2 separate regions of the Homo sapiens genome follow, and region 1 is linked to region 2. Evidence: promoter capture Hi-C in 16 types of primary human blood cells and fetal thymus (Javierre and others, 2016). All regions are on one chromosome and are shown on one strand. Each heading gives the region's core, a stretch centred on a gene start or on the middle of the fragment in contact. The rest is flanking DNA. Distances are from core to core; before and after follow the strand shown.

Region 1 (4,698 bases), core at 1-2,500, 1.4 Mb after region 2:
GGAGGGGGCTCCGGCCCGGGGGCTGCCCGGACGGGAAAGGGGACACGGGCGGGGCTCCCCCACCTGGGCCCCCCACCCTCACGCCAGGCCCCCCTGTGCGGTGCAGGACGAAGGAACCCTGGCCTCAGTTTCCCTACAGGCTGGGATCAGGGCCCCTGGGGTTCCGACTGTCTCGGAGGGGGGCGGCCTCGCTGCAGAGGTCTGGAGGCGGGGCCGGGGCGGGGGCGGGGCCTGGAGGGGCGGGGGCGGGGCTTGCGCTCACTTCCGCCCGGCGCGGGCTTGGATGGAGGCGGCGCGGAGGCCGCGGCTGGGGTTGAGCCGCCGGAGGCCGCGCCCGGCGGGCGGGTGAGGCCGGGAGCCGGGCGGGGGCGCGGCCGGTTTTCCCGCTCCCACGTGCTTCCCGGCGCCCCCGCGGGCCTCCCGCTCTATTCTCCCCCTGGGGAGGGCTCCCTGCCCCCGGGCCCGGCCCCCACGCCCGTCGCCCCACCCCGCGCCGCCATTCAGCGCCCGCCTTGAGCCCCCACCCCACGCCGAGCTTCCCCCGCGCCGCCCCAGGCCCTCCCGCGCCTCTCCCATCATCGCGTCTCCCCTGAGCACCCCCCATCTAACCCTCTACCTTCCCCAGGCCCTCCGCAATCTCCCCAACCATCGCCTCATCCCGCTGAGGACCCCATATTTCCACCCACCCACCCCGCTCCCCCACCCCCAGTACCCCTCATCTCCGCACTGTCTGCCCCAGCAGCCCTTCCCCCAACCCTGCCGGCCACCTCCCGCACCATCGAATTTCCCTCTAGTACCCCCCATCTCCCCGCTCTCTCTGCCCCAGGCCCTCCCGGGTCTCCCCACCATAGCGTTTCCGCTACTGAGTACCCCCTGTCTGCCCTCTCTGTCTGCCCCAGGCCTTCTGGCGGCCGCCCCTGGTTTCTCCTGGGGGGTGATGAGCGGGAGCGGCTCTGGGCCGAGCTACTGCGCACGGTGAGCCCGGAGCTGATCCTGGATCACGAGGTGCCTTCACTGCCCGCCTTCCCAGGACAGGTGTGCCCACTGGGCCCATCTTAGCGATGAAGGGGTTTCCAGGGCGGGAGCCATCGCTGGGCAAGGCCCAACAACTCTGTGTTGCAGGAGCCCAGGTGCGGCCCGGAGCCCACTGAAGTCTTCACTGTCGGACCCAAGACCTTTTCCTGGACACCCTTTCCGCCGGACCTGTGGGGCCCGGGCCGTTCCTACCGGCTGCTTCACGGGGCAGGAGGGCACCTGGAATCCCCCGCCAGGTCCCTGCCCCAGCGCCCGGCACCTGATCCCTGCAGGGCCCCCAGGGTGGAGCAGCAGCCGTCTGTGGAGGGTGCCGCGGCCCTGCGCAGCTGCCCCATGTGCCAGAAGGAGTTCGCCCCCAGGTGAGTAGGCCACCCCTGCGCCCGGCCCGGTTATCCATCCGTGTTTGGAAACCACAGCCGTTCAGAAGGTCAAGAGGTGGCCGAGCTCAGCGCTGGCTTTTAAAGCCCTGTTTCACACTGGAAAGGTGGCCCAGTGCTGTGGCCTGGCATGTCCAGGTGGCTCTCTGTCACGGGTCTGGGGTCCACCTGCTTGCCGTGCTCTGTGGGCAGGGCAGGCTGGGGGCCCACAGAACAGCACAGAAGGAAGGCTGGGAGCACTGGCCCCGGGTCCACCTGGCCATCCTGGAATCTGGTGGCACCAGCGTCCCCAGGCCCAGAGCACAGGAACACCTTCCCGAGAGTGCGTCATGGGTTTTAAAAATGAAGATCGTCTTTTTTGTCTGGAGATGCTTTTTCTTATTTTTGAAACCCAACGTATATTTTTATGTATTTTTTAAGTAAAGGGGAATGGAACCCAGTTTTGCTAACAAGATAACCCAAACTGCCCAGTGCCTGGCCTTGTGTCTGGCGACCTCTGGGCCCTTGGCCTCCGGAGCAGGTCCTGGGGCTGGGGTGGTGTGAATGATGCTGGTTCGTAACTTTTGGTTGAGTTAATGGGCGGCAGGTTTCAGAGCTTATGGAGACCAGGTCCTTCAGTCATGCCTGATGCCCCTGGTCTTCCAGAAGCAAAAACAGCTCGGGAATGCGAAGGCACCGGAGTCCAAAGTTGGCAGCCAACAACAACAACAACAAAAGAAAAGGCCGGGCACGGTGGCTCACGCCTGTAATCCCAGCCCTTTGAGAGGCTGAGGCAGGTGGGTTGCTGGAGCCCAGGAGTTTGAGACCAGCCTGGGCAACATGGCAAGATCCCATCTTTACATGCCTGGGCGTGGTGGCGCGTGCCTGTGGTCCTAGCTACTCTGGAGGCTGAAGTGGGAGGATTCCCTTGAGCCAGGAATTGGAGGCTGTAGTGAAGTATGATTGCACCACTGCACTCCAGCCTGGGTGACAGAGTAAGACCCTGAATCACGGACAGAGGGTACTGTTGGGAGCCCTGGGGAGAAATCCATGCTCTTGGCTGAAGCTCTGAGATCCTTGTTGCTGTCAGGGTGCTGCCCCCCGCCCCCCGGGGAGGGGCTTTTGTCTTTGCATCGCCTGCTTTTCCAGATAGTCTAAAAAAAGACTTCTGAAGACAAGGACGTTCACGAGGAAAAACTTGCCATTTTGAGCTTTTTAAGCAGTTGCTGAAAGCTTGGCAGACTGCCTCAATTTTTCCTAAGTAGGCGTCAATGAAGTCAGGTCCAGGCCTTGGTGTGTCTGGAATGCTTCAAGCACATTCGAACACTTGATCGTAAGGGAGAGCCGGTACTTTGGAACCGGAACTCACCCGAGGCTGTGGCCACCGCATGGGCAGGCTAGCTGGGGGACAAGCCCCATATCTTTGGGAACAAGGGTTTGCACAGCCACCCTGGGATGCCCTGGGACTCCTGACCGCACAGGACCCCAGCAGGGAGGCCGCCTGGATTGGAGGGTCTGGTCTAACAGCCGGACTTGGTCTTGAACCGTCGCCCTGTCCCGCACAGGCGCCTGCTGAGCCTGGAGCCCTGGCAGAGGCGGGTCTGGGGAGTGGAGCTGCCAGGAGGCCTCCCATTTCTCACAGCCTTGGTGTTCTCCGGGTCACCCAGAGGACCGTCAAATGCTGGATTTGACAAACTATGTAGAATGTTCTTTGTGTCTTTAAGATCTTCTTGTGGTCCTATTTGGACATTTTGTGCATTTTCAGACACCTGCGGGTCACGTGGGTGGATGGGAAGCTGGGCACCTGGTGAGGGGTGAGGATGTTGAGAGCCAGAGCTGCGTTTTGTCTCTGTTGATGTGGCGAGGCCCTGGGTTGGTCACTGGGATTTTTTTTTTTTTTTGAGACGGTGTCTCGCTCTGTCGCCCAGGCTGGAGTGCAGTGGCATGATCTCGGCTCACTGCAACATCTGCCTCCCGGGTTCAAGCGATTCTCCTGCCTCAGTCTCCTGAGTAGCTGGGATTACAGGCGTCACCACACCTGGCTAATTTTTGTATTTTTAGTAGAGACAGGGTTTCACCATGTTGGTCAGGCTGGTCTTGAACTGATCTCAGGTGATCCGCCCGTCTCGGCCTCCCAAAGTGCTGGGATTACAGGCGTGAGCCACCGCGCCCGGCCGGTCGTTGGGATTTTAACAGCCCTGAGGCCCCTCACGCTGCCAGGTGCCAGCCCACCCTGCAGCCCTGCTCCCCTGCCCACACGCAGAAGCCACCAGAGGCTTCTGGACTGAGCCCCCACTGTCCTGCAGCCGGGCTGGCCTGTCCACACCACAGGGCGTGCTCAGCTACTGAGCAGAAGCGTCACGGACAGGGCAGATCAGGCCAGGACAAAGCTCTTCCGCCACAGGCGGGGGTCTGAAGGCATCTCAGAGGGCCCCCAAACAAGGGACGCTGCCTGGAAACCCCGGGACAAGATGACCTCGGTTCAGATCTTAGCACCTTCTGGCAACCTTAGAGAAAGCTTCTGGAGGGAGGGGCTGGTTCCCAGGATGGGCAGAAGCCGGAAAGTCTCAGACTGAGTGACCCTCGGGGGCTTCAGAAGGCACTGGGTGGGCTCTGCCAGAGTGAGAAGGCAGCTGATGGCTGCTGGAGCCAGCCCCGGGAGTGGGGGTCCAGCTATGGTCTGGAGAGGGGGACTTGAGGGTTGCAGTGGCCACACAGACGGGGCACAGGAGCCAAAGGAAGGGACACAGCAAAGCCCAAGGGTAAAACGGCGCGCCGTGGACTGGTCTGAGGGCAGAGGCTGTAGGGGAGCGAGGGGCGGTGTGGCTGACAGGTGGACACAGGGACACGTGTCCTGTGGACTTGGCCGCTCAGTGGGGGTGTGTCCCCCAGCAGTGGCGTGTGAGGGATGGTCACTCTGATGGGACACTGACCACTTGGCCTCCAGCAAGATCTAGGCCCAAGTCTAGGCTGAAGCCGCCCACTCAGCCCCGGGACATCGTCCCCGGCAGCTCTGCTGAGCACGCCAGCTCCGGCACTCTCCGGGAGTCATGGCCGGAAGTCAACTGTCCTGGCTTCCAGGGCCACACCTTGGCCAGGCCTGGTGATGGTCATTTCCAGCCGCTCCAGTTGGGCTGATGGGGCCACATGAGGCCGGGGATAGAAGGTGGCTGCGCTCAGACACCCCTCCCGGCCCCACTGGATGCCCAGGGCGCTGACCTGCAGGACTCGGATGGGTTTTCTCCTGCCACCCCTGCCTGGCCGGCCACCATCCCAGCGCCAGCGCCCTCCTGAGAGGTGCAGGGGC
Region 2 (5,795 bases), core at 1,930-4,429:
CTCTCCTGTGGCCAATGGCAGCCAGCACCTGCAGAACCCTTCCTGTATACAGGGCTGAGTGGCTTTGCCGTCACCCAACCTACCAGGTCAGTAACCAGGCCGAGGCACACAGCTGGGGAAGTGCAGGACCCCCGCCAGGCTCTGGGCTCTGGGCTCTGCTCTAACCCCAGCCCCGAGGCCTCCTCTCCTGGTGCGCATCCGCACTGGTCATCTGGCACGGCTGGGTCTGCTGCCACTCTCTGAAGCCCAGCTGGGGCCCTTCCCCACCCAGATCACCATCAGGAGGCCACATTATGGAGCTATGCTAACCAGCAGCCACTGGCCACATGCGGCTACTTTAACATAAATTAACCAGAATTTCTGACAACTTAGGGAATCAACTCTAAAATGAGAGCTTCCTCTCTCATTTCTAGCCACGTCTCAAGTGCTCGGCAGCTCCGCGTGGCCGCCGGACAGTGCAGACCTGAAGTGTCTCCGTGACTGCGGGGGGTGTTTCCATCACTGCGGGGGGCGCGGCTATTTATGTGCCTGTCTTCTTACCTGACACAGAGATGCTGTCTTCTCATCTGCGCCAGCCATCGGGTGTTCTGTGAAAGTGGCATAGGGCACGTTGGTAGACCAGGGATTCCATCTGTTTATGAAGGAAGGACGACTTTGCTTGTCCCACTGAATTCGAATCCCAAAACCTTCTCGCCTGAAAAGTCAGAAGAAATAGCCAGACTTAGCATGGCAGGCCACAGTGCTCTCATGGACAATCTGACAGTCTCATCAGTTAGGAGAATATGACAGCAAAAAGCACACGTTTACAGAAAAGACCTATGACATATCACAATGGAAAACGGCTTGTAGTTTTTATTTTTGTTTTTATTTATTTTTATTTTTTGAGATGGAGTTTTGCTCTTGTTGCCCAGGCTTGAGTGTAGTGGCCTGATGTTGGCTCGCTGCATCCTCCACCTCCTGGGTTCAAGCGATTCTCCCAACTCAGCCTCCGGAGTAGCTGGGATTACAGGCATGCACCACCACACCCAGCTAATTTTGTATTTTTAGTAGAGACAGGGTTTATCCATTTTGGTCAGGCTGGTCTCAAACTCCTGACCTCAGGTGATCCGCCCGCCTCAGCCTCCCAAGGTGCTGGGATTACAGGCGTGAGCCACCGTGCCTGGCCGGCCTGTGGTTTTTAGTAGTAACTTCAATCTCCACTAACAATTGCTTTAAATACTGTGGGTATAAATATGACAAATTAGGTATATTTTGGTTATTAAATGTATTATTTTGGTAATCTTTACATGATTAAAAATTAATAAACAGGAATACTGGCTGGGCACGGTGGCTGACATCTATAATCCCAGCGCTTTGGGAGGCCAAAATGGGCGGATCTCTTGAGCCCAGGAGTTTGAGAACAGCCTGGGCAACCTAGCAAAACCCCATCTCTACAAAAAATACAAAAATTAGCTGGGTGTGGTGGCGGGCACCTGTAGTCCTAGCTACTTGGGAGGCTGAGGTGAGAGGATCACTTAAGCCTAGGAGGTGGAGGATGCAGTGAACCAAGACTGCACCACTGGTGCCTGGGTGACAGAGTGGGACTCCGTCTCAAAAAAAAAAAAAAAAGGGAATAATTATAGATAGGCTAGCCAAATGAGTGAAAAGGAAGTGTAATCTTCCTTTTCCTTATGTCATATTAAATGTTTTAACCAAAAGGTAAAATTTTTATTTTAGCTTCCTGAATCCCCCATCCAAATCTCTCCATCAAAAACCCAAGTTCTACAGCTTAACTGACTGTAGTAATGTTTAGGTTCCTCACGTCAGAAAATTATCCTACAGCAAAAAGATCAACTCCTGAAAGCTGGTCATTAAATATTTCCAAATTTGTCTTTTAGTGGTATCTATAAATTACAACGGGACCCTCCATTTCTCTTTAAAAAATTAGCCAGAGCAAGACTTGATGTGTCATATGCAATCTGTCCCTGGCTGGAGAAAAATGCAGAGTTTGGACTTTTCCTGAAGAACATCCAAGTTCCTTTTTAACACGCTGGGCTCTACTTCAATGCATCCTGAACTCATGTAAGTCTTTTTACTACCAGCCTAATAGCTGCCTTCTGTGCCAGAATTCCTTTTAATGCACTCAATTGCCCAGAAGTCGCTTCTTTTTAAGGAACTTCCCATTGATATTTGGAGCTGGAGCCTTTGTGCTTATAATTAATGACAGAGAAGACACACCGCTTGGGGGGCTGATTTAAAAGGGCTGAATTGTAAGGTCCACTCTGGTGCTTAGGTCCAGTGATACTGGACTCTGAACAGGCTTACTTGTTGAGCGATTTAGGGGGAAACTGGAATTCTCCGTAGGAAATGGTGTCTACTGCGTTGAGCGCTATCCGCACCACCTGCTGGCACTGGAGACTGATGAAGTCGTATTTACAGATAAGCAGGGACTGCTCCGTGACCAGCACCAGCCGCTCCTTCTCATTGTTCCAGTGATCCACCCTGTAGGCAGAGGAGGGGCCTCAGTCCACACTGGACGCGGCTGTCTCGACTTAGCCAAGGCCAGCCCGCCTGGAAGGGCAGCAGGGGCGGCACGGGGCGCCTGAGCGTGGCACGAGCACCCCGGGAAGTCCTCGCAAGGTGCTGCGCGGCGGCTCGGGGCGAGTCCCCCCACCAAGGAGAGCGCAGCCCCGGCTTACTCGGTAAGCAGCCACACTCCCTGGATCTCGCCGTCCTCCACGGGCCGCACCACCACGCGGATCTCCTCCACTGCCTGCTCGATGCTGCCGGGCTGGGCGGGTTGCGGGGTGGGGGACGGGGGCAAAGATCACAGGTCACAGCTCGCTCCCTGCGGGACCGCCCGGCGCCCGCCTCCGACCCCACCCGCCCCCATCCCGCCCCGCGCCCTCGGCCCCCGCCCCGGCCCTGGCCCCTGCCTCACCCGGAACACGAAGTACTCCTTGACGCGGGCGCGGCGCGTGGGGTCGTGGATGCTGAGAGGCCAGAGTGTCTGGCGCAGCGGCGTCCCCGCCCCCGGCCGCCCCCCGCCCGGGCCGCCGCCTGCCCCCACCTCCTCGCCGGCCGCCAGCACCGCCGTGGGGCTCGTACCGGCCGAGTCCACCGAGTCCCGCAGTTGCAGCATTGCCGCACCCCTTACCGACCCCGACCCTGACGCCGACGCGACCGCCGTCGCCGCAGCCACCGCCACCACCCGGCCGCGCCCCCGGCCCCGCCCCGCGGACCGCCGCGATTGGCTCCGCCTTGCCGGCCCCGCCTCTGGCTCCGCCCCTTCCCGCGTCCGCCGACCCTCGGGATTGGCTCTCCTCCTGCCGTTTTCCGCGATTGGCTCTGCCCCGCCGCCGTTCACAATCGCTCCCGCCCCTCGCCGGGCCGGAAGCGACCGTCACGCGCAGGCTCACTTCCTGTTTACACAACGAGAAGGGGCGGGGCCGAAGCCGGTTGCCAGGGTGTCGCGGAGCGGCTGGGAAGGAGGGGCTGGGAATCTTGGAGCCCCTTGGCCCGCGGGGAAAGCGGGTGACCCGCCCTGCAAGTGGGATGCCCCCTTCGGCCTTCTGGAGCGCAGGTGGGGGCGCGCGCCCATCGGGGGCTCGCACTGCACGGAGGGTCGCGGTGCCGGGGAGCTGAGGTTGGAGGATGCAGGGCGGCGGCCCTGGTGCACCGTGGGGGAGTTCGCACGCCGGGCAGCGATCTTCTGCCGGGACCTGGCGTTCTTCACACACGGCTTATTCGTGACGGATCCACAGAGCAATGCACTCTGAAGCCGGAGGGTAGAAAGTGCTGGAATGCGCGCCCGGGCCCAGGCTGTCGCGAGCCTTCAGCAAGCCAGTGCACACAGAGAGGGCTGCCCAGAGATCCCGGTCAGCGCTCGCAGTTCGAGGTGGAACATGTGTGTGCCCTGCGCTAGCCCCAGCTCCCGGAGGTGCCCCCAGCGCGTGTGGAGGGGGGCGGTGAACGGACCCGCAATCTGGTGGAGGCTGCGGGAAGGAGGCGCAGAGTCCAGGGGTCAGGGTTACCTTCGGGCAGGAGGACAGATCCCTCTGCTCGGAGGTGAGGAAGACACACGAGGCGAGGTGCACACAGGCGAGGAGAGTGAGATGGGGGGAGAATGAGGAGTTCAGGATACATCTGTTTACTTCAGTCAGGGAGTGGGGATGGAGCGGAGTATTTGTAAAGATGGACGGTTTAGAATCGCCGGGATGAGAACCGGGCAGGGAGCTGATCAGGGAAGGGCATGGGGATCTCTGAGCAGCTGGGAGACCCCAGGGAAGTTTGCAGTGGCGCCTCCCACGCGGCAGCTGGGGGAGTGGAAGAAACCAATGCTGGCTGGTCTAGATGGAGGAGTTTGCTGGGTAGCGGTGGTCAAAGACCAGAGAGAAAAGGGAGGCCAAAATCCTAGAGGGAGTGTTGCCCAAGAATGGTGGAGTGCAGGGATTCTGCCCCACTTGCCAGCAGACAGGCCAGGCTGCCAAAGTTGCATGGGCGCTGGCAGAAAGACCCAATACCCCTGGAGTCAGAGAGGAAAGACTACAACAGGAAACGGGCGACGCTGGTGTGCCCAGACGCATGTTGCACCACAGCGGGTGCACTACAAAACAGGACCCTGGATCCTGTGGACCAATGTGGTCTTTGTCCCACAGGGAGGCTGTCTCCCCGGCAAGGGTGCCCACTGCAAGCACAGGCGTGAGAAATGGCCCAGAAAAGAGTGGTCAGGGCAATGTGTTCTTGGCACGCCCAGCAAGACCTGCCAGAGGGACCTACAGACGAGTGTCTCCCAGCTATCTTACCAGCGGGGACCTTGAGGTCCAAGTATCCAGTCCGGTTAGAAATGGCCGCGGATCCAACAGGTGCTGGTGAGTGGGAGAATACCCCTGAGGGAGGAAGAACAGAGGCCGGGAGGGAGCTGAGTGGATGTAGATGAGAAATACCTGGACAGCTGCAAGCTGTAGTCAGTGATGGGCAACTGGAACCAGAGATTCCAGAGAGAGGGAGGGAGAAAGAGGGAGGAGAAGGGAGAATGAGAAAGAGAGGGAGAGAGAATGGGGGGGAGAAAGAGGGAGAATGGGGGAGAGAGGTAGGAGCAAGTTCTGGACCACGCCAAGGATGGAGCTGTGGTCCTGGAACCAGATGTCCAGGGAATGGGATGAAGTGACACTGGCTGGGGCCGAGGCTGCAGACTGCTGGTGGGAGCTGGCAGGACAATGAGGATTCTGAACCAGGTGCCTGAGCCTTCTGTGGATATGGGGAGTGACTTGGATGTCTATAAATTCCAGAAATGATAGGAGGGATAGATGATGGAGGGACTGTATTTTAGACAATAAACAAATTTCACTCAGTATGGATGAGTTTCCTGGGGCTTCTGTCACAATGCATCACAAACTGGTTTTAAAAACAACAACTGTTTTAAAAACAACAGAAACGTGTTTCCTCATAGCCCTGGAGGCCAGAAGTGCAAAATCAAGGAGTGTGCAGGGCCATGCTCCCTCTGCAGCCCTGAGGGTTGACGCATGTCTTGCTCTGCCAGGCCTGCTTGGTGTCCTGGGCTTGCTCATGCACTGCTCCCATCCCTGCCTCCATCTTCACACGACCTTCTCCAGGTGGGTCTCTTCTGCAACATCCCTGTTGGATTAGGGACCACCCTAGTGACCTCATCTTTAGTCGATCATCATCATGTTTGATCAAATAAGGTCACTGTGTTTGTTTGTTTTCCCACTGCTATTAATATGAAGAACTTACCTGAAGCTGGGTAATTTATAAAGAAAAGAGGTTTCATTGACTCACAGTTACACATGACTGGG

What was found. The method cuts DNA at HindIII sites, captures the fragments that hold promoters and counts their contacts. A CHiCAGO score of 5 or more calls a contact.
Region 1: a fragment that was not itself captured here is called in contact with the fragment with the promoter of TPRG1L in region 2 in 1 of 17 cell types (fetal thymus); the score reaches 6.6 in fetal thymus.

The regions. Positions count from the first base shown.
Region 1 is chr1:2,190,335-2,195,032 of GRCh38, reverse strand. FAAP20 (FA core complex associated protein 20) reads left to right here and starts at 261. Exons shown (of 4, transcript NM_182533.4): 1 at 261-345; 2 at 900-1,035; 3 at 1,123-1,394. The coding sequence starts at 284. LOC112268219 (a long non-coding RNA gene) reads right to left here. Exons shown (of 1, transcript NR_168005.1): 1 at 2,575-4,698. RefSeq lists silencers at 1-406, 417-506. The HindIII fragment of the contact is 2,752 bases long and covers 1-2,626 here.
Region 2 is chr1:3,622,399-3,628,193 of GRCh38, reverse strand. It overlaps TPRG1L (tumor protein p63 regulated 1 like), which reads right to left and starts at 3,179. Exons shown (of 5, transcript NM_182752.4): 1 at 2,921-3,179; 2 at 2,679-2,770; 3 at 2,305-2,481; 4 at 541-694. The coding sequence starts at 3,121. It also overlaps a transcript of MEGF6 not described here. RefSeq lists enhancers at 2,143-2,805, 3,786-3,905 and a silencer at 3,106-3,335. The HindIII fragment of the contact is 13,719 bases long and covers 1-5,795 here.